2 separate regions of the Homo sapiens genome follow, and region 1 is linked to region 2. Evidence: promoter capture Hi-C in 16 types of primary human blood cells and fetal thymus (Javierre and others, 2016). All regions are on one chromosome and are shown on one strand. Each heading gives the region's core, a stretch centred on a gene start or on the middle of the fragment in contact. The rest is flanking DNA. Distances are from core to core; before and after follow the strand shown. Region 1 has its middle 80 kb from the start of TRIM36. Region 2 holds the start of TICAM2 (TIR domain containing adaptor molecule 2).

What was found. Contacts are between HindIII fragments. The CHiCAGO score rates a contact against its expected background, and 5 or more counts as called.
Region 1: a fragment that was not itself captured here is called in contact with the fragment with the promoter of TICAM2 in region 2 in 2 of 17 cell types (naive B cells and monocytes); the score reaches 6.5 in naive B cells.

The regions. Positions count from the first base shown.
Region 1 is chr5:115,088,687-115,091,386 of GRCh38, reverse strand. No RefSeq gene overlaps it. Among named protein-coding and RNA genes, the nearest start is that of TRIM36, 80 kb to the left of the region's middle. RefSeq lists enhancers at 1-363, 364-863. The HindIII fragment of the contact is 2,106 bases long and covers 207-2,312 here.
Region 2 is chr5:115,601,164-115,603,910 of GRCh38, reverse strand. TICAM2 (TIR domain containing adaptor molecule 2) reads left to right here and starts at 1,432. Exons shown (of 2, transcript NM_021649.7): 1 at 1,432-1,814. All of the region lies in intron 3 of TMED7-TICAM2 (TMED7-TICAM2 readthrough), which reads left to right. It overlaps TICAM2-AS1 (TICAM2 antisense RNA 1), which reads right to left and starts at 1,756. Exons shown (of 3, transcript NR_109875.1): 1 at 1,451-1,756; 2 at 755-865. RefSeq lists a silencer at 1,441-1,940 and enhancers at 1,560-2,082, 2,031-2,110. The HindIII fragment of the contact is 4,479 bases long and covers 1-2,603 here.

The DNA.
Region 1 (2,700 bases), core at 10-2,509, 510 kb after region 2:
CAGGAAAAAAAAAAAAAATTTGTGATCTTGCCTTCTAAACTATGGAGATACCCCCAGAAAGTAATGAGAATGACCTGAATATCTGGTTTGCTGGGAGGTGGTTTAGAAGGAGGGAGAACCTCATCTGCTTAGAAAGCTCCTTTCAAAGCAGTATTACAAAGCAATTCTTTTTCTGAGGTATTCAGCATCTGGTGGCTTTGCAAGCTTTTAGCTTTTTATTTTATTTTCTCAGAAAAATATTTGTGCTTTTCTTGAGCTGCTGATTCACCTGTGACCAACTCTTTTTGTTGTGAAAACCCAGCAAGATATGCAAATGCAGAGGGCAGGCATGGCTGCAGGGAAGTTGGAAGCCCACCGCTGGGGCAATTATTCATCTTGGGGGAAACTCCTTTGAAATGGTGCATTTGTGGCCAGGTGCGGTGGCTCAAGTTGGGAGGCTGAGGCAGGTGGATAACCAGAGGTCAGGAGTTCCAGACCAGCCTGGCCAACATGGTGAAACCCCGTCTCTACTAAAAATACAAAAATTAGCCAGGCATGGTCGTGGGCCCCTGTAATCCTGGCTACTTGGGAGGCTGAGGCAGGAGAATTGCTTGAACCTGTGAGGAGGAGGTTGCAGTGAGCTGAGCCAGTACCATCGCACTCCACCCTGGGCAACAGAGCAAATATCTGTCACAACAACAATAACAACAACAACAACAACAACAACAACAACAAAGGTGCATTTGTGAAATTCTGAAGAAGCCCTGAAGGCTGAGGCAGTGAGTGGGAGGATATCTGCTAAGAAGTCGATGTCTGCAACCCTGTGTCTTTGCCAGTACCTTCTAAGCCAGCAAGTTACACCTTAGCGAGCACCTGCTCTAGAATCTATGCAGGTTTCCTTGTCAGTTCTCTCCCTTTCAGATGTCCCTGTGTGATGTGTGTGCCTGGGAGATATGTTGACCTTGGTACAACTAGAATGGTTAGAAATGTGTATTTGCCTCCTCCCAGGTTTCCCCTTTTTAGGGTTCTCACCTCATTTTCTAGTCTCAATTCTCTTTCCACTGGGGCCTTGAAAGGGTGATAGTTGGAAATGACTTTAGGCTGATATCCTTGTCCTTATTAGCATAAGAAACCAAAGGCGTTTGAGATCTTAACGAATTAAATTTCAAAGGCTGAATTTCAGAGGAGGAAATGAGAGGAATTATCTCCACTGGAGCCTTTCTAGGGCCCCTCAAATTACAGTATTGGTAGCTATCTCCCTCTGTGTAGCTATCAGTCCTTGAGAAATGCAAGGTATTGAATTGATTTCCTTTGCTCTTAGTTCAATCTGTTTTTGTTGTTTTTATTTTTATCATAATAATGCTTTCATATTATATTTTGTGATTACTTCTGAGCTTACCACAAAACAAAAACCATACAAACATTATAAAATTGTCAAAACATTAGCTTTATTAAAGACAGAGCTGTTATTGAATGATTCTCCTATTATTTATTTCCCCTGTAGCTTGCTAGATCTTTGTTAACTTTCAGGAAGCCCCAGAACACAGGGTTATAAGTTGTTCTATATTTTAAATGTGCCAGTTCAGCCCCAATATAACACTTTCCTTTCCTCATTTTGCTCAGTGTGAAAACATGGAAATGAAGCCATGCTTTTCCTGGATTTCTCTAGTTTCTAGCAGTTCTACTGTCACTGACAAATGCTGACTTCTTTTTACCAGTAGACTATTTAAATTTTCCTCCTAAGTCAGCATAGAGTTCCAGATATCTACTGAGAGCTGACAATCCTGTTCAGGGCAAATATGTTGGTGAAACTGATGAATAAAGATTATTCACCATCTGTCTTCTTTTTTTATTTATTAAGGATATTAACCCTTTGCCATATATATTGCAAGATTTTTTTCCCCCAGTTTCTTGTTTAGCTCTTGAGTTTTTCTTTTTTTGAGATTAAGGTGTCCCTGTGTTGCCCAGGCTGGTCTCTTATCTCCTGGGCTCAAGTGATCCTCCTGCCTCAGCATCCCAAATAGCTGGGATTACAGGAGCACACCACCACACCCAGCTCTGACTTTCTTTTTTGTAGTATAGTTTCCCCCCAAATGCTTTATACTTTTATATGGTAAATAATTAAATCTTTTTCATTTATGGTCTGGCCATTGGCATATGCTAATCTGTTTTTTCTCAGTAAAAGGAAAATTTCCAATGCCAGAGGCCATATAGGTCATTCTTATGGCTTAGTCACTTTCAGTCCCCCTGGACTCAGAAGACAGGTTATACTTAATTGTAGTTTGTGGGGTACAGGGTTTTGCTACTGAATATCCAAACCTGTAAGTCAAGCTTTTCTTCCAAACCAGGATTAATTTATGAGCATTGCATATTGCTAGTCTGGCTTCTCCAATCTAGGCTTTCTACAGCCACAGCCAGAATCAACTGAGCTTTCCCATCCTTTGTGAGTAAATGAGCAGCTTTGGGGAAAATAATTGGCAGTACTGAGGATGGTGGTGATCTTGCTGCAACCAGCAGATCTGTGACTGCTGAGAACAATGCTGCGCACAAAAGTCCAAACATAACAGGGAGTAATGTCACGCTTATCTCACTTGAACCCTGGGCACTTTAACACTCTAATTTCTCCCTCCTTAAAAAATGTTTTTCCTCAGCCCCAACAAGTGATGATCATCCCTGTATATTTCCATCCCAAGGATCTGTTTTTACTTACTTGTGGTTGTA
Region 2 (2,747 bases), core at 183-2,682:
GAATCTGTCATTGGTGGTATTTCAGTGGGAAAATGTGAAAAGCTCTGATTTTGAAGGGTTGCCAGAGAAAGAGGAACAGGCAGAGGAAACTGAAAGAAGAATTTTTTTTTTTTTTTTTTTTTTTTGAGACGGAGTCTCACTCTGTGGCCCAGGCTGGAGTGCAGTGGCGCGATCTCGGCTCACTGCAAGCTCCGCCTCCCGGGTTCAAGCCATTCTCCTGCCTCACCCTCCCAAGTAGCTGGGACTACAGGCAGCTGCCACCACTCCCGGCTAATTTTTTGTATTTTTTAGTAGAGACGGGGTTTCACCGTGTTAGCCAGGATGGTCTCGATCTCCTGACCTCGTGATTCACCCGCCTCGGCCTCCCAACAGGCCTGAAAGAATTTTAACAAGCAGGATGAGCATAAAGGCAAAGTGGGGTTGTCAACATCAAGGAAACAGAGTGTTGGGAAACAATGGTCGACTTTGTCAATCGCCAAAGAGACTCCCAGGAAAAATGAGGGCAACAAAAGTATCAGTTGGATTTAGGAGGCCACTGCTTACCCAAAGAGTTCAGGTAGAATTGTTGGGAGGTGCAGTGGTTGGAGAATCAACTCCGTGAATAATGAATTGTGTTGACACGGTACATAATACGGTATTTCTGACTACATTGGCGGCATTTCACTAAGTAATTACTACCTGAAGTGCCTACCTTCAGTAAGGCATCCTGTTGTTGGATGGGGAAAGAGAAGGAGGAAATAACTCTTAGCTTTACCTGTACTGTGCTTCTGAGACCCAGGTATGGACCTTCACTCCCAATTTACTATCCATGGTCTCATCCGATGTTCAGTAACTGGGTTCTCCTTTGGCAGGGAGTAGGGATTGCCTGAGAATTAAAAGGGGAGGGGAGATTTCTGAACTGGACCTCTTAGGTTATGACTAGATTGGGTGCCTGAGGCAGCAATGGGGCTTTATAAGGCTTCTTTACGCTTCATTTAACTAATTGCTTTTTTGTTCTCTCTTATTCAGTGGAGTTCCAATCTGTTCGGTTGTGGAGAACGAACCTGAGAAAAAGGATCTTTCGCAGGGTAGTTTTTGGGGGCAGAGGCTGATGTGCTGCACCCCCTAATCAGGGGTATGGTTGGCTGCAGTAGTCAAGTGAGAGGGCCGCAAAGGGAAAGGAAAAGTCGAGACTATCTTAGGGAACCAGGAGAGTCGCTGTACCTCTGAAAGATCTACGGTTTGTCTGGTCTGTAAGGAGCAAACACGGTGGAATTCCTTTCCAGATTTTTCTGGGCCTCGACCTCTGGCTTTTGGGGTACATGCCAAAAAAAAAAAAAAAAAAAAAAGCGCAGGGAGAGTCCACTAGCCTCGGTGACAGTTCCCCATTGCGGTTTCCCCTCCTCCACCCTTCTTTGCGAGCTCCTTCCCTCTGCAGAGAGTTATCCCGCCACATTAACCCCTGACTCACAGCTGGACCGCCCCGGCCCGCAGCGCCACGTCCCGGGTGGGGCCTGCCACGGCAAAGCAGCAGTCCGGCCTCGAGCGGCCCCTCGGGGGCGGCGGGGTGGGCGCCAACAGCAGTCAGGCCTGACAAGCGGCGACCTCCAAGGGTGAGGCCTCTGCGGGCCCCCGACTCACGCGCGTCCGGGCTCTGCAAGCGCGGTGGGGAGCAGGCTGCTGTGGTCGCGGGGACTGGGTTGCGGCGCGCCGCGTACGGGACGGCCCCAAACTCTCGACGCCCGGGGCAAGACGCCCACCCCCTGGGCGCTCTCGCTGGGCCAGAAAGGAAGACAGAAAAGCCGCGGGCTGACTGTGGTGGCGCTCGCCTGCAGGCAAGTACCGGGCGCTAGGGCGGGGGCCGCCGCCGGGGGCGCGGGGTGGGCTGGGGCCAGGCCGCCAGGGGCGCGGGGTGGTCTGGGGGCCAGGCCGCCTGCGCTACCTCCCCAGCCTACCCGACCCGACGGCGCGGGTGCTGGCGCTGTTGTCCCCAGCGGGGCGGGCAGGCCTTTCCGTCACTTGGCTTACTCTGAAGGGAAAATCCACACAGCTGTCTGCCTTTTTGTTTCATTTTGACTAGAAAACCCATTTTCGAAAAGACACCTCAGAACCATAAGCAAATAGCCCAGAGTCTTAAATGCTCTAAAGGCTCTGCATGAGCCCCTGCCAGGCACACAGAGCCAGTGCTGGAGGTTTTGGCATGGGTTTTCCTACTTGGCTTTTTGTGCAAAGCTAATTTGGATAAAAATAATTTGACTGGCAGCTGTGAGCTAGTTTTCAGTGTATTAGGACCTCTCCAGCTTTCCACGGTAGTAAACTTCTTAAAGAAAGTATTTTAAAATATTCTCATATTTATTATTATTTTTTAATTTATCCTTTTAATTTTGAAAAGCAAGGGTGGGAAAGGCTATATGATCTGGAGGTAAAAATACACCATTATATAGAGTTGAAGTGTCATCCCCTGAACCCACATTGCACGTCTACACAGGAGAAGAACTTGTCCTTCTCCAAGTGTTTAGTATTCCTTAGATTAGTGTTTTTCAAACAAGCCTGATGGTAAGACGCATTTGGGACTTTTGTTTAAAATGCATCCCCCCACCTCTGAAGGTTTAATTTGGTAAGCTTGATTTCCAGAATCTGTATTTCTATTTTTTTATTGTTTAATTTAATTTTATGTTCTGGGATACATGTGCAGGACTTGCAGGTTTGTTACATAGATAAACGTGTGCCATGGTGGTTTGCTGCACCTATCAGCCCATCAATCCTTA